5 separate regions of the Homo sapiens genome follow, and regions 2, 3, 4 and 5 are each linked to region 1. Evidence: promoter capture Hi-C in human tissues and cell types (Jung and others, 2019). All regions are on one chromosome and are shown on one strand. The core of a region is centred on a gene start or on the middle of the fragment in contact, and the rest is flanking DNA. Distances in the headings are between cores, read along the strand shown. Region 1 holds the start of MAP1LC3A (microtubule associated protein 1 light chain 3 alpha). Region 2 has its middle 62 kb from the start of EIF2S2. Region 3 has its middle 28 kb from the start of ASIP. Region 4 overlaps GGT7 (gamma-glutamyltransferase 7). Region 5 overlaps ASIP (agouti signaling protein).

Region 1 (4,016 bases), core at 983-3,482:
TTCCTGCGGCGGGAGTACTACCTCACACATGGCCTCTACTTGACCGCCAAGGATGGCACAGAGGCCATGCTCGTGCTCAAGTAGGCCTGGCTGGCACAGGGCTGCATGGACCTCAGGGGGCTGTGGGGCCAGAAGCTGGGCCAAGCCCTCCAGCCAGAGTTGCCAGCAGGCGAGTGCTTGGGCAGAAGAGGTTCGAGTCCAGGGTCACAAGTCTCTGGTACCAAAAGGGACCCATGGCTGACTGACAGCAAGGCCTATGGGGAAGAACTGGGAGCTCCCCAACTTGGACCCCCACCTTGTGGCTCTGCACACCAAGGAGCCCCCTCCCAGACAGGAAGGAGAAGAGGCAGGTGAGCAGGGCTTGTTAGATTGTGGCTACTTAATAAATGTTTTTTGTTATGAAGTCTACCCTGAGACCACATCTGCATTGCACTCCTAGAGGGGGTGGCCCCTAATAATGTTCTGGAACACTACACACAGGTGTGGGTTTCCAGAGCGAGCACCGCGGCCACAGAACACAAGTCTGTGCGCCAGAGCCCGGGGATGGTGCGGGCAGCCCCACCAGCACCCTCCCCACTCCCAAGCAAGCGGCTGGAGGCACAGGGCCAGGCAGGCCTGAGCAATCTTTATTCTGCAGAGGGACAATGACCACAGATCCATACACCACGTGGAGACCGAGGGGCGGGGAGCCAGGGGCCAGTCTTTCAGGGGTGGGCAGGTCCAGGCGGTGGGCAGAGCCTCGGGTGGGTGAGGGGCAGATGGGCAGACAGGCAGGGGCCTAAAAAAAAGATGAACCACACAGCAGGGGTGCTGGGAGCTGCTCCCCACCCTCCCCCATCCCACCAGCCAGCACCCAGAGGGACAACCCTAACACGACCGGCCCAGGATCCACCCAGGGGCAGAGTAGGTGGGTTGGTGCCCTCTGACTAGGGGGGCACATGCCTGCCCAGCCCACCACGGTAGAGGCAGCTCAGTTCAGGAACCAGGAGCTCTCTGGGCAGGGCCTGACCGGGGCCGCCCGACTCCCAGGCCGAGCCCCCCTACTGCTGGCTCAGAAGCCGAAGGTTTCCTGGGAGGCGTAGACCATATAGAGGAAGCCGTCCTCGTCTTTCTCCTGCTCGTAGATGTCCGCGATGGGCGTGGACACACTCACCATGCTGTGCTGGTTCACCAGCAGGAAGAAGGCCTGCGTGGGGTTCAGCTGCAGGCGGCGCCTGCAGCCGGCGGGAGAGTATGCAGCTGTGAGGGGCTTGGCTGCGGGACGGACATAGCCCTGACCCCCAGAATGATTCCCAGCCTTTCACACCCATTCTCACCCCAGCTGTCACCTCTGACCCAACACCGACTGCAGCCCCGACCTTGACCTTTCCAGCCACCCCAGAACAGGGGCCCACCGCCCGGTCCCATCACCCCTGACCCCACTCCCACCCCTTCTCGGCGGGAACCCGGCTCCCCTCCCGACCCTAGCCACCTCCTGGCGGCGGCTGCCCACGCACCGGATGATCTTGACCAACTCGCTCATGTTGACATGGTCCGGGACCAAAAACTTGGTCTTGTCCAGGACGGGCAGCTGCTTCTCACCCTTGTAGCGCTCGATGATCACCTGGGAGCAGGGCGGGCGGGCAGGGGGTCGTGTCGGGAACGCGCGAGGCGGGGGCGGGGCAGGGCTGGGGGTGCGGGACTCACCGGGATTTTGCTGGGGTGCTGGTCGCGGATCTGCTGTACCTCCTTACAGCGGTCGGCTGCGGACAGCGGCCAGACCGTGAGGCCGGGTCGGGCCGGCCCAGGTCCGCCCCGCCTGTCCCGGAGGGGCGGCCCCCGGCCACGCCCCAGCTCCAGCCCCCACCCCCGGGGCCATCAGGCCCCACAGCCCCTGGCACCTATCGCGGTGGGGAAGCGGGCAGCCCCCGCCCAGGCCGGAGCTGGTCCCAGCCCGAGGGTCCAGCCAGAGCCTGACGTCACGGGGCTGACGTCACCTGCGGCAGTCGGGGTCGGCCGGCACCCCTGCCCCAGAGCTCGCAGCTCGCCTGCCGGGCCTCACCGAAGCTCCGCCGCTGCTTGAAAGGCCGGTCTGAGGGCATCGCGCGGGCCCGGCTGGGCGCGCAGGCCGGGGCTCTGGGGCGCGGGGATGTGTCTGCGGTTTGGGGGCTCCGGGGGCTCCGCGCCTCGCGCTCAAGGGCTCCGGGGCTCGCGCTGAGCACGGCGGCTGCGGCTGCGGGAGGTAACTCGCCCGGTGACGTCAGGTCACAACATTCCTTAAAGGGGAGGCCAGTGCGCCGCTCCCATTGGGCCGACGCACAACCCGCCCGCCCGGACCCGTGACGTCACGGCGCAGAGAGCCTGGGTCCGCGGACCGGGACGCGAGGGGCGGGGCTTCTGGGCGCGTCACAGTCCCGTGACGTCATGGGCAGCGCGGGAGCTTCTCCCGCAGCCCGAACTCAAGGTAAGGCCCGGAGGGCGGTGGGGCCGCCCTAGGCCGATGGAGCGGGCGGGCCAGGCTGCAGCCCCACGGCACCACTTCCCGCCCTCACCGAGTCTGTGTCAGGACTGACGCGGTTCTGGGCGCCGTGGGAAACAGCCGGAGCCAAAGGCCCGGCGCCTTCACGGGGCTTAGGGCGAGAGAAGGGAGAAGGTGCGGGAGGCACAGTCAGACACAGGATAGAACAGGATGCTAGAAATGAACGCCCAGGTTTGAAAAAGAATAATATAATTGAAAAGTAGAGCCATCGAAATTCAGGTCTCAGAGGATGAGGTGAGAAGGCAGAAAAGGACAACAGAAGAGAAATCGTGGACCTGGAGGCTGATCGGAAGCAGCTCACCAGAGAGACAGGTGATGGGGAATAAGGAAAAGGGCACAGATGGCAACGCCAGGAGAACTCGCGGGCCCGAGCAGAGCTCCAGAGGCGAACACTGAAAGACCTGCAGAGACAGTTCCTGAAAAAGAGCTGCCAGAAATGATGCTTAAAATCCAGAGCAGAATGCGCAGACTGAAGATCAACATTTTTTTGGGGGAGGGGGGAGGGGGACGAAGTCTCGTTCTGTCGCCAGGCTGGGGTGCAGTGGTGCGATCTCAGCTCACTGCAACCTCTGCCTCCCGGGTTCAAGCGATTCTCCTGCCTCAGTCAGCCTCCTCAGTAGCTGGGATTACAGGCGCCTGCCACCACCCCCAGCTAATTATTGTATTTTTAGTAGAGATGGAGTTTCACCATGTTGGCCAGGATGGTCTCGATCTCCTGACCTCGTGATCCACTCGCCTCGGCCTCCCAAAGTGCTGGGATTACAGGTGTGAGCCACCACGCCTGGCCGCCGAAATAATTTTTAAAGAATGTAGTTTAGTAACAAGGACATGGAACCCAAAAGGAAGAAATTAGATGGAAAAATGGTGAGCAAATTGGTAAACATGTGAATCTAAACAAGCATTTAATATGCAATATGAATAATAATGATTAATTTGTGGGCCACAGAAACAAGATGCATGAGACACAAGAACATGGAAGACTGAGAGGGCAATTTGAGAGGGGGTTAAAGAGACTGAGCATTGTCTGGCTTTGTAAAGTCAGGTGTGTATTTCAGATATTTAAGAGGATCACCAAAAGAATACAAACGGAACTATAACTGCCAATGCAGAGAAAAGGGTAGTGATGGGTATTAAAACTATAATGGAAGGCAGAAAGGGAGAAAAAGGAAGCAAAGTAAAAGGGATGGTAAATATATAGTACAAAACCAGAGGTAGAAAATGTGGTTTACATTCACCTCTTAAAACACAGATGACCAGATTGGCCAAGAAAAAATAAGATGCAGCTCTATGCTATTTACAAGAGGAAATTTAAAACCTAAGGGCACCAAAAAGTAAAACGATGGGAAAAGGTGTACTAGAGAAAAACTAACCAAAAGATGTACCTATAGAAAACTCAGACAAAATAGGCCTTCAGGCAGAAGACACTGGGGATAAGAGGATCAACATGAAATGATGCGAGGAGGAACTCTGTGAAGAGAGGAAAGTTCTGAACTTCTAT
Region 2 (4,016 bases), core at 482-2,981, 380 kb after region 1:
GGCAGATGGTTTTTTATAAAAGGGAAGGAAGAGCCAGTAGGAGATATTGTAGGGTATGTTTAGGAGGAGGACAGGATATATTTTGTCCTGGTTTTCAGCTCTGATTTGAAGTCTTCAGCGGATCACAGTACACTGTTTTGAATGTGAGTGGTTATTCTATGTCACAGCCTTTTCCATTCTCCTCAAGCCTTCTTTGCAGCACATGACCTTGTCTCCTACTTTAGGAAGGAAACGAAACTGCCAGTAGTAAATTCCCTTAAGCTCTATCTCCTCCACTTCTTTCTTTCAACTCACTAAAAGAGGAGTCACTCCCTGTGTTCAAGCCCCACCCTTCTACTAGACCTCTTCGTTACACCTCTTTGCCCATCTTTTCTCTCTGTCTTTTTTTTTTTTTTTTTTTTTAAACGGAGTCTCGCTCTGTCGCCAGGCTGAAGTGCAGTGGCGCAATCTGGGCTCACTGCAACCTCTGACCTCTGCCACCCAGGTTCAAGTGATTCTCCTGCCTCAGCTTCCCAAGTGGCTGGGACTACAGGCACATGCCACCATGCCCAGCTAATTTTTGTATTGTTTAATAGAGACGGGGTTTTACCGTGTTGGCCAGCATGGTCTCAATCTCTTGACCTCGTGATCCTCCTGCCTCGGCCTCCCAAAGTGCTGGGATTACAGGCATGAGCCACCATGCCCGGCCTTCTCTCTTCTATATTTACCTTCTTTGTGGAAATAGAACACTTTGGCTAAGCTCTTCAGTCTTGTTTTTTCTATTGTTCTTTTCTCCCTTCCCTCCTCCTGCCTTCCACACCCCTTCTCAAATTCCACTCTATTTCCTTTTTCAGCCCAACACTGCAGTGAAAAAGAGACAGTCTGTCGTCTTCCAGGAGCTTAGAGATTAGTGGGGGCCACAGATTAATAAACCAAGGAAGAGAAGGACATTTCCAGACAGACAATAGCATATGTAAAGGCATAGAGGCCAGAGCAGTACAGCTCTTTCCACGAACTGTACCATGTGGTTAGAGGACTGGGAACAGATGTGGAGGATAGGGTGCCGAGATTGGAGAGAGTGAAAAGGGTCACATATGCCATGCTAACAAAGCTTTACTTGCAGTGCTAAGAGCCTGGATTTTAGTCAATGGTCAGTGAAGAGTTCTCTAACAGTGGTGAAGAGGAAAAGACTGGTGGGGAATTATATTAGAGGCAGGGCAATTAGTTGGAGATTATTGTAAAAGTTCAGCTAAGAAATGAAGAGGACCTAACCTAAGGCACTGGAGATGAAGAAGATTTTTTTCTTTAACAATAGCTTTAAGCAAATTGATTATAAAGTTCCTTGGTGTCATTTTCTTCATGCTTCCCATGTAGGGTTTGTTGAACTTCTTGGGTCTATGGGTTTATAGTTTTCATCAAATTTGAAAAATTTTGGGTCTTTATCTGCTCATTACTATTTGGTCATTATTTCTTTTTTTTCTGTACCCTCCCTTCTCCTTTGGGGTCTCTAATTACACATATATTAGGCCACCTGATGTTGTCTCAAGGCTCGCTGATGTGCTCTTTTTAAAGTCTTTTTTCTCTATGTGTTTCATTTCTTATTGTTTTTATAGCTATGTCTTCAAGTTATTTAGTCTTTCCTTTGGCAATGTTTAATTTGCTGTTAATCTTATCCATTGTATTTTTCATATCAAATACCATATTTTTCATCTCTAGAAGTTAGACTTAGATCTTTTAAAATAACTTCCATGACTCTACTTATCATTTTCAATCTTTCCTCTAGCTTCTTGAACATGTGGAATACAGTTATAAGAACTGTTTTAATGTCTCTGTCTACCAATTCTATCTTCTGTATAATTCTTGATCTGTTTTATTGATTTGATTTTTCTCCTCATTATGGATCACATTTTCCTGTTTCTTTGCAGGCCTGATAACTTTTTTTGAATGTCAGACATAGTGAATTTTATCTTGTTGGGGCTGGTACTCTGAGGATTGTTCCTTCTGCTCTTTTCTGGTGCTACTTTCTCCAGCCTCAGGTAGTTTCTTCAAACTTCTGTTCTGATCAGCACTAATTTCAGGAGGGGGACTAGAGAATAGGAAACAGGGGTAAAAGTCCAGGAAGTAAGTACGCTTAACTTTCTGAATTTCTCATATTGTTAGGCTAACAGAATTAAGTCTCGCTAGGATTCTTGGTAGATCTTAAGGAAATACTGCCATGCTGTAAAAGGACTGAAAAAAGATCAAACTTTAAGAATAGGTCACAGCCTATGATGAGAAGGGTCAAAAGTCAATTCATAAATAAATGACCCAGGAAGTCCCTGGATTGTTCTCTCTACTCTAGAGTCCTTTCTTTATTTGCACGACTAGGTGCTAACTTTGTTCCAGGTCTAAAACGTTTACCTCCTAATTCTAAGGGTGATGATCTTATCAACTCTAATCCTATCTTAAGGGACCAATTTGATTTTTGTATCTCACTGTATGAGTCAGAGAAAAAAGATTTTCTTTGTACATTTGAAAAGTTATTTGTGATTAAGACGTTACTGCTAAGCCCATATTTTTGATAACTCGCCAGGGATAGATTCTATTGACAATTATGAGTGTATGATGCCTTAATTTGTAACTTTTTTTTTTGAGATGGAGTCTCAAAGTCTCCCAGGCTGGAGTGCAGTGGCACGATCTGGGCTCACTGCAAGCTCCGCCTCCCGGTTTCACGCGATTCTCCTGCCTCAGCCTCCCAAGTAGCTGGGACTACAGGCGCCTGCCACCATGTCTGGCTAATTTTTTGTATTTTTAGTAGAGACGGGGTTTCACCGTGTTAGCCAGGATGGTCTCGATCTCCTGACCTCGTGATCCGCCTGCCTCGGCCTCCCAAAGTGCTGGGATTACAGGCAATGAGCCACTGCACCCAGCCAACTTTTTATTTAAGGATGAAAGTGTGGGAAAATGTAAGCTGTTCCTGGAATATGATGAATATACTTTTCAAATCAACACACTCTTTCAGAGACGTTTTTCTTTACATAGAAGAGCAACTAGGCAGCCCTAGCACATTTTAAGAAAAGGGTTTAATAGCAGAAGCTCCAAGACTACCCCAAAGTAGTCAGATTCCAGCAAATCTTAGGAGGGAGGACAAGCCAAGGCATCTTCAAACAACAAAAACTGTAAATCAAAAAAGTGTCTAAGACAGGTCTCAATTGATTTAGAGGTTTATTGTGCAAAGGCTGAGAACACACCCAGGAAAAAGAGAAACAACTTACTACAGATCTGTGGCTTGTGTTGTCCAAAGAGGGTTTTGAGGACTTCAGTATTTAAAGGGGACGGAGCAGGCAGGAGGGGAAAGAGGAACAGCCAATTTATCTGGCACTCAGTAAATCTGCATTTTCTGTAAGATAACAAATATAGAGTAGAGGAAGAAGTCAAATATGCATTTGTTTCAGGGTGGCCAGAGGGATGATTTCTATTTTATTTTTTATTTTTTTTATTTTTTTTTTTTGAGACGGAGTCTTGCTCTGTCGCCCGGGCTGGAGTGCAGTGGCGCGATCTCGGCTCACTGGAAGCTCCGCCTCCCGGGTTCACGCCATTCTCCTGCCTCAGCCTCCCCAGTACCTGGGACTACAGGCGCCCGCCACCATGCCCGGCTATTTTTTTTTGTATTTTTTAGTAGAGACGGGGTTTCAGCGTGTTAGCCAGGATGGTCTCGTTCTCCTGACCTCGTGATCCGCCCGCCTCGGCCTCCCAAAGTGCTGGGATTACAGGCGTGAGCCACCGCGCCCAGCCTGGGATGATTTCTGTTCTTGTCTTTGTCCTCTACCTGGGAAGATAAGCGGTTAATTTACATTATTAGGGTGAGGGATATCCCCACCTGGGGATATTGGTGGCTTCTACATTGAAGTTATCTGTTTAGAAACGAAAGCAAGGCAGTTTTTTGCATGACTCAGTTCCCGAGCTTAACTTTTCCCTTTGGCATAGTGAGTTTGGGGTTCCAATATTTTCTTTTCTTTTCACAAACCCAAGCTTTCTGTTGAGCCTTCTTTTTAGAG
Region 3 (4,016 bases), core at 644-3,143, 350 kb after region 1:
ACTCTCATAAAAGATACCATGAGGGAACAGTGCATTCCAAATCTGGTGGAATCATGGTACCAAATATCACAAAATTATCAGTATACTAATTCTGAAGTGATGTGTCAGTGCCTTGAAGTAGTTGGGGCTTATGTCTCTTGGATTGACTTATCCCTTTTAGCCAATGATAGGTTTATAAATATGCTGCTAGGTCATATGTCAATAGAAGTTCTACGGGAAGAAGCATGTGACTGTTTATTTGAAGTTGTAAATAAAGGAATGGACCCTGTTGATAAAATGAAACTAGTAGAATCTTTGTGTCAAGTATTACAGTCTGCTGGCTTTTTCAGCATTGACCAGGAAGAAGATGTTGACTTCTTTTCAGCATTGACCAGGAAGAAGATGTTGGCCAGATTTTCTAAGCCGGTAAACGGAATGGGACAGTCATGGATAGTTAGTTGGAGTAAATTAACTAAGAATGGGAATATTAAGAATGCTCAAGAGGCACTACAAGCTATTGAAACAAAAGTGGCACTGATGTTGCAGCTACTAATTCATGAGGATGATGATATTTCTTCTAATATTGGATTTTGTTATGATTATCTTCATATTTTGAAACAGCTTACAGTGCTCTCGGATCAGCAAAAAGCTAATGTGGAGGCAATCATGTTGGCCGTTATGAAAAAATTGACTTATGATGAAGAATATAACTTTGAAAATGAGGGTCAAGATAAAGCCATGTTTGTAGAATATAGAAAACAACTGAAGTTAGTGTTGGACAGGCTTGCTCAAGTTTCACGAGAGTTACTACTGGCCTCTGTTCGCAGAGTTTTTAGTTCTACACTGCAGAATTGGCAGACTACACGGTTCATGGAAGTTGAAGTAGCAATAAGATTGCTGTATATGTTGGCAGAAGCTCTTCCAGTATCTATCTCATGGTGCTCACTTCTCAGGTGATGTTTCAAAAGCTAGTGCTTTGCAGGGTATGATGCGAACTCTGGTAACATCAGGAGTCAGTTCCTATCAGCATACATCTGTGACGTTGGAGTTCTTCGAAACTGTTGTTAGATATGAAAAGTTTTTCACAGTTGAACCTCAGCACGTTCCATGTGTACTAATGGCTTTCTTAGATCACAGAGGTCTGCGTCATTCCAGTGCAAAAGTTCAGAGCAAGATGGCTTACCTGTTTTCTAGATTTGTCAAATCTCTCAATAAGCAAATGAATCCTTTCATTGAGGATATTTTGAATAGAATACAAGATTTATTAAAGCTTTCTCCACCTGAGAATGGCCACCAGTCCTTCCTGAGCAGCGATGATCAAATTTTATTTATGAGACAGTTGGAGTGATGATTGTTAATAATGAATACCCGGCAGAAAGGAAAGAAGCCTTAATGAGGAATCTGTTGACTCCACTAATGGAGAAGTTTAAAATTCTGTTAGAAAATTTGATGCTGGCACAAGATGAAGAAAGGCAAGCCTCTCTAGCAGACTGTCTCAACCATGCTGTTGGATTTGCAAGTCGAACTAGTAAAGCTTTCAGCAACAAGCAGACTGTGAAACAGTGTGGCTGTTCCGAAGTTTATCTGGACTGTTTACAGACATTCTTGCTGGCCCTCAGTTGTCCCTTACAAAAGGGTATTCTCAGAAGTGGAGTCTGTACTTTCCTTCATCGAATGATTATTTGCCTGGAGGAAGAAGTTTTTCCGTTCATCCCATCTGCTTCAGAACATATACTCAAAGATTGTGAAGCAAAAGACCTCCAGGAGTTCATTCCTCTTATCAACCAGATTACGGCCAAATTCAAGGTACAAGTATCCCCGTTTTTACAACAGATGTTCATGCCCCTGCTTCATGCAATTTTTGAAGTGCTACTCTGGCCCGCAGAAGAAAATGACCAGTCTGCTGCTTTAGAGACAGACTTTTTCAGTGTTCACTTCAAAACTGTCTCAGTCTCTACCTATGACTCAATTCCAAAGCCACTTTCACATTTTTCAGGTGTTGGTTATAGCAACACTCCACTCTCTGGCATTAACTTTCTGTCTTAGACTGTTTTGTGCTGCTATAAAAGCATACCACAGACTGGGTAATTTATAATGCAAAGAAAGTTATTGGTTCACAGTTCTGGAGGCTGGCAAGTCCAAGATAGAAGGGCTGGCATCTGGTGAGGGCCTTTTTTGCTGTGTCATAACATGGTAGAAGGCATCACATGGCAGAAGGATAAAGAAAGGATGGAGGAGAAGGAGCAAGAAGGGTGAACCCACCCTTGCAATAATGATAGCAGCATTAGGTCTATTCACAAGCGTGGAGTCCTCATGGCCTAATCACCTCTTAGAAGTCTCACCTGTTGATACTGTTACAATGGCAACTAAGTTTAAAGTGACTTTTGGAGGGATAAACATTCTAGGAGGCTTCTTGCTTATAGTAGTATGTCAAGTGCTGACTGGTAAGTCCTACAGTCACTCAAAAGCAGTGCTGGAGTTGGAAAATCTTAATTTTGCAACCATCATAGTAAGAATTGATTCAAGTAAGAATCATCAATAGATGCAAGATATATGCACATTCTTAAAGTATTTCCCCTACAGATTGCTTATTAGTTATAAGGGTAAAGAATGGAAATATCTCAATGGAGTGATCAAAATTAACAAGGGCAGGTGGGAAAACATCAGATAAACTCAAAATTAAAATAATTCTATCACACAAAAGAAGAATTTTTTTTCCTCAAAAATGTCAATGTCATAAAAGACAAAGAATGGCTGAGGAACTGCTCCAGATTAAAGGAGATTGTACTGAAGGAAAATAAATACTATATAAGACATTATTGGGTCAATTGTTAAAATTGTAAAATAGACAGTAGATAATGTATTGCATCAATATTAAAATATACTAAATAAGTTTATAGGAGTGATAACTGTACCATGGTTACTTAAGAAAATATTCTTATTCTTTGGAAATTCACAATGAAATATTTAGTAGAAAAGGGTCATAATGTATATGTATGAAATTTACTCTCAAATTTTATGTGTAAAAAATGTGTGTGTGCATGAATGTGTGTGCACATTTGAAGAAAGAGAGTGAACACACAGGCACAAAATAATAAAGCAAATGAGACAAAGTATTAACAATCAGAGATTGGGTGTATGGGAGTTGTTGCAATTTTTCTTACTAGTCTTGTAACTTTTCTTTACGTTATGAAATTATTTACAAATAAAAGTTTAAAGAGTAATCTATTAGGTGAGTTTAATAATAAATTAGACTCAGCTTAAAGCAGAATTGGTGAAATGAAAGAAAATTCAGAAGAAAATACACAGACTAAAACATGGAGTTACAAAATGATGAAAAATACAGAAAAGAATGTAAAATCATATAGGACATAGTAAGCAGTTATAATCTTAGAAGGATAAGAGAGAGAAAATGGGACACAAGCAATATTTGAGAAGATAATTACTGAGAATGTACCAAAGCTTTATATACTTGATATCTTTATCTGGTTACAGATTCAAGAAATGCCACAAAGCCCAAGCAGGATAAATGTACACCTAGGCATGTGACTGTACATCTATAAAAAGCTAACGACCCAGAGAAAAATCTTAGGAGTAGCACAAGAAAAAAGTCAGTTTACTTGCAAAAGATCAAAAAGTAAGACTGACTGCTAATTTCTCAAAGGAAACAACATAACTCAGAAAACAATGGAATGATATCTTCAAAATGAAAGAAAATAACTAAGTTGGGATTCTACATTCAGCAAAAACATTTTTTCGTAAATGAAGGTGGAAATAAAGACAATTTCAGACAAATAATACCTGAGAAAAATTTGTCACCCGTAGACCCATATTAAAAGACATTCTAAATGGTATTTTTCAGGCAGAAAGAAAGTAATCTCAATGGAAGCACAAAACTGAAAGAAGAAATATAGAACAACATTAAGTTAACAACAGTGGGTAAATCTTAACAAATGCCAATTGTATAAAACAACAGCACTGACAACAATAACAACAACATTTTGTAGAATTTAAAGTATATATAAAATTAAAATATA
Region 4 (4,016 bases), core at 850-3,349, 300 kb before region 1:
AGCTCCAGGGCATGAGGGAGACAGAACAAGGAAGAATAAGGACAGATCCATTAGGAGGCACTTGGGGTAATGAGGGCAGAGTCAAGGCAACAAGGGGGCAGGGCTTCGACCTTCATGCCGCGTAGAGTTCTAGGGCTAGTGGAGGTGCCCTAGGGAGGTGGACAGCTCCTCCTGCCCCCACCAAGTCCTCTTTCCCCTCCCAGATCTTCCAGCAGGGTGCCGTGGTGACCGATGCTGCCCGCTGCACTTCACTGGGCATCGAGGTGCTCAGTAAACAGGGATCTTCTGTGGACGCAGCGGTGGCAGCAGCCTTGTGTTTGGGTATCGTGGCTCCACACAGTTCTGGCCTGGGCGGGTAAGGAGCAGTGGAGGTCGGGGTCCCCCAGGCCTACTTCTTGCCTCCAGGTCTGTAGGCCTCATGTGCAGCACTCCTAACTTAGGGAGAGGGGCTTTTGGGCCCCAACTCCTTGCATTTTCTCTTTCTACACCAAATTTCACCCCCTTCTCCCTGGATGGAGTCAGAAGAGCAAAGCTACCTTATGGAAAACCTGAAAGTGTTTTCAGAAGCTTTTTTTTTTTTTTTTTAACTAGAAAAAGAAATTTGTAAACCATAAATTAAGATGCACAGGTGGAGGTATACTGTCATCAATTAAGGCAGAGATATTTCAACTTCTAGGATCATAAATCCCTATGGGTCTGATGAAAAGCCTTGCACCCTCTGTCCTCCAAAAATACACCCTGCACTAAGAACTCTTAGAAGTTACAAGCTGGCCACCCATGGGCAACACCCAGCACACAGACTGGTTTGGTTTAGACACTGAACTGTCTTAAAATTTTGTTTGCTTTTGTTAAAAAGTTGAGAATTTTCATAAAAATCCAGATTTCCAACATCTCTTGAACAATCGGGAAATCCGATAACAACTTGGGCCCGCATTCTCACATGGCTGAAGTTACCTGGCGTGGAATAGAAGCTGCTTCCCATGATGGGCATGCACTGTCCAGTTTGCCGTAGTTTCTACCACTTCCTCTTCTCTGTCCTGCTTGCCTTAGTTTGTCATTTGGCTGTGGGCATTTAAGTTTGCAGCCCCCATCTTAGACGTAAATAAGCTACAGAAAAGGAACAAGCTGACAAAGTTCCTATCTTGGCTCCTGTAAGACCAGCTCTCCAAGCCGTACCAAAGAAATTCCTCTTTTGGTTTTGCATGTTCTATCCTTACATAATCCAGTCCTGGGGGAGGGGCAAGGGACATACCAAGTAGACAGGTGCAGGAAGCTGGCAGGGGTCCAGCTCTGGTCCAGGGTGGGGGCATGGGGCAGAACATCCTGTTCTGCCAGTCTCTGGGCTTTTCCTAATCAGGGATTAAAGTCTCCAGTGACAGGATAGAAGAGGTCCATGGACCCTGGGTCTCCAACCCTCTTGGTTTTGCTCCCATCCTCTTAGGGTGGCTGAGTCTGTGAATCCATGCTGGGGAGGGAGCTCAGACACCTGACCCCAAATGAAAAACTGAGCCTACAGCTCTCACCACTGGGGGTGGAGGGGCAGCAGATTCATTGTACAGAGGGGTAGCATGTTATCATCACACTTCCCCTTCTGTGTCTCTCCCAGTGGGGGCGTGATGCTGGTACATGACATCCGACGAAATGAGAGCCACCTAATTGATTTCCGGGAGTCCGCACCAGGGGCCCTCAGGGAAGAGACCCTGCAAAGATCCTGGGAGACCAAGGTGGGGACCCTGGTGAGAAGAGAGAGTTCAGGGGAGTCTCTCTTCATTGCCCTTCTGCTAACCCAAGCATTAATTTGCTAAGTATTTACCAGGGGAGTGGGAAAAAGAGTTGAGCAGGATTCTCTTAGGCTATGAGAGAGTCAGGCAGCCCCCAAGATAAAATAATGAACTAGAAAATCTGGAACCTTACTTCTCTGGGAATCTTACCTATCTGGCACGTGGGAAGGAAGAAAAAAGGCTACTGAGTACCCTGAAATGTCACGAAGTTGATGCAATGAAACTCACACATCTCACTCTGAGCCAGTTGACTATAACTTTCCCAGCCCTTGATATATTGGAAGATTAGAGGGGAATTGCCAGAAGTAAACCAACTGTCTGCTGAAAGAAAAAGAAGATATCGAATAACTTGGAAAAATGGGTACTTAGTGCGGTGGCAAAAGCCAAACACACCCCTGAGTCTTCAGAGCTCAGAGTAATGGTGGGGTGAAACTGAATAGGTTAAATGAAGGTCCTTTGTCCACCGTTTTAAAAGGTAGGGTTGCCTGGGCACAGTGGCTCACACCTGTAATCCCAACACTCTGGGAAGCCAAGGCAGGAGGATTGCTTGAGGCCAGGAGTTTGAGACCAGCCTGAGTGACATAGTGAGACTTTGTCTCTACAAAAAATGCTTTGAAATTAGCCAGGCACAGTAGCATGCACCAAGGATCGCTTGACTTGAGCCCAGGAGTTGGAGGCCACAGTGAGCTATGACTATGCCACTGTACTCCAGCCTGGGTAACAGGAAAAAAAAAAAAAAAAAAAAAAAAAGGCAGGGGTTGGTGAAATCCAATGTAGACAGGTGTCTTTCTACACTGGTTATGTCCTGGCTCTTAAAAGAGTTTTGCTTAATTTATAAATCCCCCAACTACGGCAGCTAAAAGAGGCCTTTCTGCATTTGCTGATAGGAAGTCAGGGAGATGGGAGGGGTGCCTGCTTGGGAAAGCTTGTCCCTCCCCTGGGATACTTGGCCTGTGTCTCTCCCCTGTGCCAGCCATCCCTGGCTTGGGGCTCTGCGGAGTTCAGCCCAGCACCCCCCTTCCAGTGACCTGGTCTCCTCTCTCCCTCGCCTACCCGCCTTGCCCAGCCTGGGCTCTTGGTGGGGGTTCCCGGAATGGTGAAGGGGCTACATGAAGCTCACCAGCTCTATGGCAGGTAACAACCCTCCCCCTGGGGACCAGGGACCCCCGTTTGCATCTCTCCTTGGGTGGCCTTCTCCTACTTCCCTGGATTCTTCCTTTCCCAACTCCCCCTCCTAATATCCCCTTCCCTTGCCAGGACTCTCCTTCCCAGGAACCCCCCTCCCCCCGGACCCCTCCTCATTCCCCCAGGACCTCCTCCACCCCCTGCTCTCCGGCCCCCCCAGGCTGCCATGGTCCCAAGTCCTGGCCTTTGCAGCAGCTGTGGCCCAAGATGGCTTCAACGTGACTCATGATCTAGGTCAGTGGGGCCTGGGGATTTGGGAGAGACATGAGGTTGATGGAGAAGGGTAGAATCTTTGAGATTTGGAGCCCAAGCCAGAGAGGCCCTCTCTTCCAGTTTGCTCCTCAGACCCCCTCCCCACCTTATCCCACCCTCACCTGGAGGCGGCCTCAAACGAGGGGGTCTGGGAAGGGCCCTTAGACATCCCTGCCTCGCACTTAACAGGCTCCTGGGGGTCAGGGCACTTAGGGTGGGCCACTCAGCCCCCATCTACCCCATCTATTGCGCGTCTCATCCGGTCCAGTCCTGGCGTCCCGCCCTGCCCAGCCTCCCGTCCCTGCCCCTAGCCCGTGCCCTGGCTGAACAGCTGCCACCCAACATGTCCGAGCGCTTCCGGGAGACGTTCCTGCCATCGGGCCGCCCGCCACTACCTGGCTCGTTGCTGCATCGGCCCGACCTGGCTGAGGTGCTGGATGTACTTGGCACCTCCGGCCCGGCTGCCTTCTACGCAGGTGGCAACCTCACACTGGAGATGGTGGCCGAGGTAAGTGCTCGTGTTGTGCGGGTGGGGGCATGCCCCAAGGTCCCTATTGCAGGACATCCGCGTCCGCATTTTTTCCTTCCTTCCCTCCCTCCCTCCCTTTCTTTCTATATTATTTACTGTGGATTATGTTCATTTGAAATTCTAGAATAGTCAAAACTAACCTCTAGTGACAGAAATCAGATCAGTGGTTGGTGGGGCTGGGAGGAGCTGACTGGGATATGACATGAAAAACCTCCTGGGATGATGGAAGTGTTGTCTTTTTTTTTTTTTTATGAGACGGAGTCCTGCTG
Region 5 (4,016 bases), core at 539-3,038, 290 kb after region 1:
TCTTTTCCTGGGAAGGAAATAGCCACTGGTTTTTGTACCTTCGATACAGGTAGCCACTGGTCATCTGTGGCTACTGAGTACGTGAAATGTGTCTAGTGCAACCTAGAAACTGAATTTTCAAATTTAATTTTAATTAATTTAAATTTAAAATGTAAAACTGAAGCAATATAAAAATATTCTTCCTCTTAAACACAACTTTTTAGTTAGAACTACATTTTATGCTTGTCAAAACTGAGCATTGGAATGAGATGTGCTGTAAACTATGCACCAGATTTCAAAGATTTAGCACAACAAAAATAAATTATTTCAATAACTTTTTAAATTAATCACATATTGAAATGTTAACATTTTGAATACACTAGGTTAAATAAAATATTACAATTAATTGCACCTTTTTTTTTTTTAAATATGGTTATCAACTGGGTGTGGTGGCTCATGCCTGTAATCCCAGCACTTTGGGAGGCCTAGGCAGGCGGATCACCTGAGGTCGGGAGTTTGGGACCAGCCCGACCGACATGGAGAAACCCGTCTCTACTAAAAATACAAAAATTAGCCCAGCATGGTGGCACATCTGTAATCCCAGCTACTCCCGGGAGGCTGAGGCAGGAGAATTGTTTGAACCGGGGAGGTGGAGGTTGCTGTGAGTGGAGATTGCGCCATTGCACTCCAGCCTGGGCAACAAGAGCAAAACTCTGTCTCAAAAAAAATAAATAAATAAAGTGGCCATAAGCAAATTTAAAATTATGTAGCTCACATCACAGTTCTTTTTTTTTTTTTTTTTTTTTTTTGAGAGCCAGTTTCACTCTTGTCGCCCTCCCAAAGTGCTGAGATTACAGATGTGAGCCACCGCGCCTGGCCTCACATTGTATTTCTATTGGACGCTGCTGCTCTAGGTTACTGAGTTTTTCACTCTATTTAAATGCTACTTCCTTACAGAGGCCTTCCCAGACCACTCTTCCCTTCAGTCTCATTACCGTGCTGTAATTTCTTTGCACTCTTTAACATCTGAATTTATTTACCTATTTATTGATTTACTTGCTGTTCACCTGTTTTCTCCACAAGAATGTAAACTCCATGAGACCAAGGATAAGATATATCTTTCTTATTCACTGCTATGTTCCCAGTGCTTAGCATATAAATATATTTGTCAGTTATATATTTTTATCTGTCAATAATCTCATCTTGCTTGTTCACTTTACAGCCAACAAAATAGGCCTAGAAAAGAGCAGGGACTTTCAAGATCACACAGTGCCAGATCCTACCTCCTAATACCTAATCCAGTGCTCCTTGCTTTGGTTACAGTTGATATGATAAACTGAGGCACACTAAGACAGGAATAAGGTGTGCATTTCAGCAATGCCTCAGTCCAGTATTTCCCAAAGTGGGAACCTGTGTTAATGGTGGTATGATTTTAGGTGGTACGTGAATGTTAAATGATCCTGAATTATACAATAAAAAAGGATTCTTTTTTCAATCTTTTTCAACTTGAAAGGGTCAGTTTGGTGCTAACGTGTCCTTAGTGCCTTTCTAACACTTTATAATCTGCCTTTTTTGTTTGTTTGTTTGTTTGTTTTTGAGATGGAGTCTTGCTGTGTCACCCAGGCTGGAGTGTAGTGGTGCCATCTCGGCTCACTGCAACCTTCATCTCCCGGGTTCCAGTGATTCTCCTGCCTCAGTCTCCCAGGTAGCTGGGATTACAGGCGTGCACCACCACGCCCAGCTAATTTTTGTATTTTTAGTAGAGACGGGGTTTCACCATGTTGGCTAGGCTGGTCTCTAACTCTTAACCTCAGGTGATCTGCCTGCCTCAGCCTCCTGAAGTGCTGGGATTACAGTTATGAGCCACCGTGCCTGGCCTAATCTGCCTTTTATTTTTTGTTTTATTTTATATTATTTTTGAGACGGAGTCTCGCTCTGTCACCCAGGCTGGAGTGTAGTGGCACGGTCTCGGCTCACTGTACTCTGCCTCCCGGGTTCACGCCATTCTCCTGCCTCAGCCTCCCAAGTAGCTGGGACTACAGGCGCCCGCCACCACCTCCGGCTAATTTTTGTATTTTTAGTAGAGACGGGGTTTCTCCGTGTTAGCCAGGATGGTCTTGATCTCCTGACCTTGTGGTCCACCCACCTCAGCCTCCCAAAGTGCTGGGATTATAGGCGTGAGCCACCGTGCCTGGCCATTATGCCTTTTAACACAGAGATTTAGGCCTCAAATTTAGAGCCTTTGGTAGGCAATACCATCCATTCACCCAGAATTTACTAACAATGTTTTAACTTCCCCCCCTCCGCTTTTGTTTTTTTTTGAGACAGTCTTGCTCTGTCGCCCAGGCTAGGGTGCAGTGGTGTGATCTTGGCTCACTGCAACCTCTGCCTTCCAGGTTCAAGTGATTCTCCTGCCTCAGTCTCCTGAGTAGCTGGGATTACAGGCGTGCAGCACCATACCCAGCTAATTTTTGTATTTTTAGTAGAGATGGGGTTTCACCATGTTGGTCAGACTGGTCTTAAATTCCTGACCTAAGGTGATCCACCCTCCTTGGCCTCCCAAAGTGCTGGGATTACAGGTGTGAGCCACTGTGCCCGGCCAACTTTACTTATTTTTATAGTTACCTTCTATTTATGGTAAGTGATACTAGTTTTCTATCATAATTATATACAGTTGACCCTTGAACAATGCAGGGGTTAGGGGCACAAACTCTTTACACACAGTCAAAAATCCTTTTTTTCTTTGAGACAGGGTCTTATTCTGTTGCCCAGGCTGGAGTGCAGTGGTATGATCACAAGTCACTGTAGCCTCGATATCCCAGGCTCAAGCGATTCTCCTACTTCAGCCTCCTGAGTATCTGGGACTACAGGAGCACACCACCACACCCAGTTAATTTTTTAAATTTTTTGTAGAGATGAGGTTTCATCATGTTGCTCAGGCTGGTCTTGAATTCCTGGACTCAAGTGATCTGCCAACCTCAACCTCCCAAAGTGCTGGGATTATAGGTGTGAGCCACCGTGCCTGGCCCTCATATTATTTTTGACTCCTCAAAAACTTAACTACTAATAGCCTACTGTTGGCCAGAAGGAAGCCTTACTGATAACATAAACTGTGGATTAACATCTTTTTATGTTATATGTATTATATACTGTACTCTTATAATCAAGTAAACTGGCTGGGCATGGTGGCTAATGCAGGTAATCCCAGCAGTTTAGGAGACAGAAGCAGCGGATTGCCTGAACTCAGGAGTTTGAGACCAGCCCGGGCAACACCGCAAAACCTCATCTCTACTGAAAATACAAAAATCTGCCAGGCATGGTGGTGCACACCCGTAGTCCTAGCTGCTTGTGGGGCTGAGGCAGGAGGATCACTTGAGCCTGGGAGGTTGAGGCTGCAATGAGCCGAGATGGTGCCACTGCACTCCAGCCTGAGTGACAGAGTGACACCCCATTTCTAAAAAAAAAAAAAAAAAAAAAAATGAAGTAAACTAGGGAAAATAAAATATTAAGAAAATTATTGGATAAGTAGAGATCGATTATAAGAAAATATAAGGAAGTGAAAATACATTTACAGTACTGTACTGTATTTATTGATACCGTAAGTTTACTTCATCTGTTTACAAGATGTATTGTCTGTCTGAAATAGTAAGCAACCAAAGCTTCAGACCTCAACCTATAGTATCAATCAAGTAATTCAAGCAACTTTTTCTTGTAATGTCATGACTCTTCTTTGCTTCTTGGGAACACTTCCAGAATCACTAGTAGCACCTAGTATGGGTCCCTTGGTACTACTCAAGGTTTACAATATTGCATTAAACACATTGAAAAATACACGAGAACCTTGAGGGATCACATTTTACTGCAATATGTGATTTCCTGGTGAGACTCCTTGTGCAGAGATGATTAGCTCACAGAGCGTTGTAAGCACGTACTCGCAACACCTGAGCATGCCGCAATGGCAACAGGAGGTATCTTCACAATTATGATGGTAGTACAGTATGTACTGCAGTTGTTTACACAGTTATGATTTAGTACTA

What was found. Contacts are between HindIII fragments. The study calls those that stand out against the background at their distance.
Region 2: a contact is called between a fragment that was not itself captured here and the fragment with the promoter of MAP1LC3A in region 1, in 5 of the 25 tissues and cell types used here (IMR-90 fibroblasts, dorsolateral prefrontal cortex, lymphoblastoid cells and 2 more).
Region 3: a contact is called between a fragment that was not itself captured here and the fragment with the promoter of MAP1LC3A in region 1, in 6 of the 25 tissues and cell types used here (dorsolateral prefrontal cortex, heart left ventricle, hippocampus and 3 more).
Region 4: a contact is called between a fragment that was not itself captured here and the fragment with the promoter of MAP1LC3A in region 1, in 1 of the 25 tissues and cell types used here (spleen).
Region 5: a fragment that was not itself captured here is called in contact with the fragment with the promoter of MAP1LC3A in region 1 in 5 of the 25 tissues and cell types used here (bladder, dorsolateral prefrontal cortex, lymphoblastoid cells and 2 more).

The regions. Positions count from the first base shown.
Region 1 is chr20:34,556,934-34,560,949 of GRCh38, reverse strand. It overlaps MAP1LC3A (microtubule associated protein 1 light chain 3 alpha), which reads right to left and starts at 2,232. Exons shown (of 4, transcript NM_032514.4): 1 at 2,042-2,232; 2 at 1,687-1,742; 3 at 1,497-1,603; 4 at 605-1,214. The coding sequence starts at 2,081. The coding sequence ends at 1,052. It overlaps PIGU (phosphatidylinositol glycan anchor biosynthesis class U), which reads left to right. Exons shown (of 12, transcript NM_080476.5): 12 at 1-408. The coding sequence ends at 84. RefSeq lists silencers at 427-476, 2,051-2,100, 2,441-2,530. The HindIII fragment of the contact is 19,125 bases long and covers 1-4,016 here.
Region 2 is chr20:34,172,290-34,176,305 of GRCh38, reverse strand. No RefSeq gene overlaps it. Among named protein-coding and RNA genes, the nearest start is that of EIF2S2, 62 kb to the right of the region's middle. The HindIII fragment of the contact is 6,088 bases long and covers 1-4,016 here.
Region 3 is chr20:34,211,372-34,215,387 of GRCh38, reverse strand. It overlaps a transcript of ASIP not described here and the pseudogene XPOTP1. Among named protein-coding and RNA genes, the nearest start is that of ASIP, 28 kb to the left of the region's middle. The HindIII fragment of the contact is 4,701 bases long and covers 1-4,016 here.
Region 4 is chr20:34,859,153-34,863,168 of GRCh38, reverse strand. GGT7 (gamma-glutamyltransferase 7) reads left to right here. Exons shown (of 15, transcript NM_178026.3): 3 at 204-355; 4 at 1,607-1,724; 5 at 2,848-2,915; 6 at 3,127-3,200; 7 at 3,530-3,726. Among named protein-coding and RNA genes, the nearest start is that of GGT7, 12 kb to the left of the region's middle. RefSeq lists an enhancer at 1-136. The HindIII fragment of the contact is 5,237 bases long and covers 1-4,016 here.
Region 5 is chr20:34,264,232-34,268,247 of GRCh38, reverse strand. All of the region lies in intron 3 of ASIP (agouti signaling protein), which reads right to left. It also overlaps a transcript of AHCY not described here. Among named protein-coding and RNA genes, the nearest start is that of ASIP, 25 kb to the right of the region's middle. The HindIII fragment of the contact is 9,736 bases long and covers 1-4,016 here.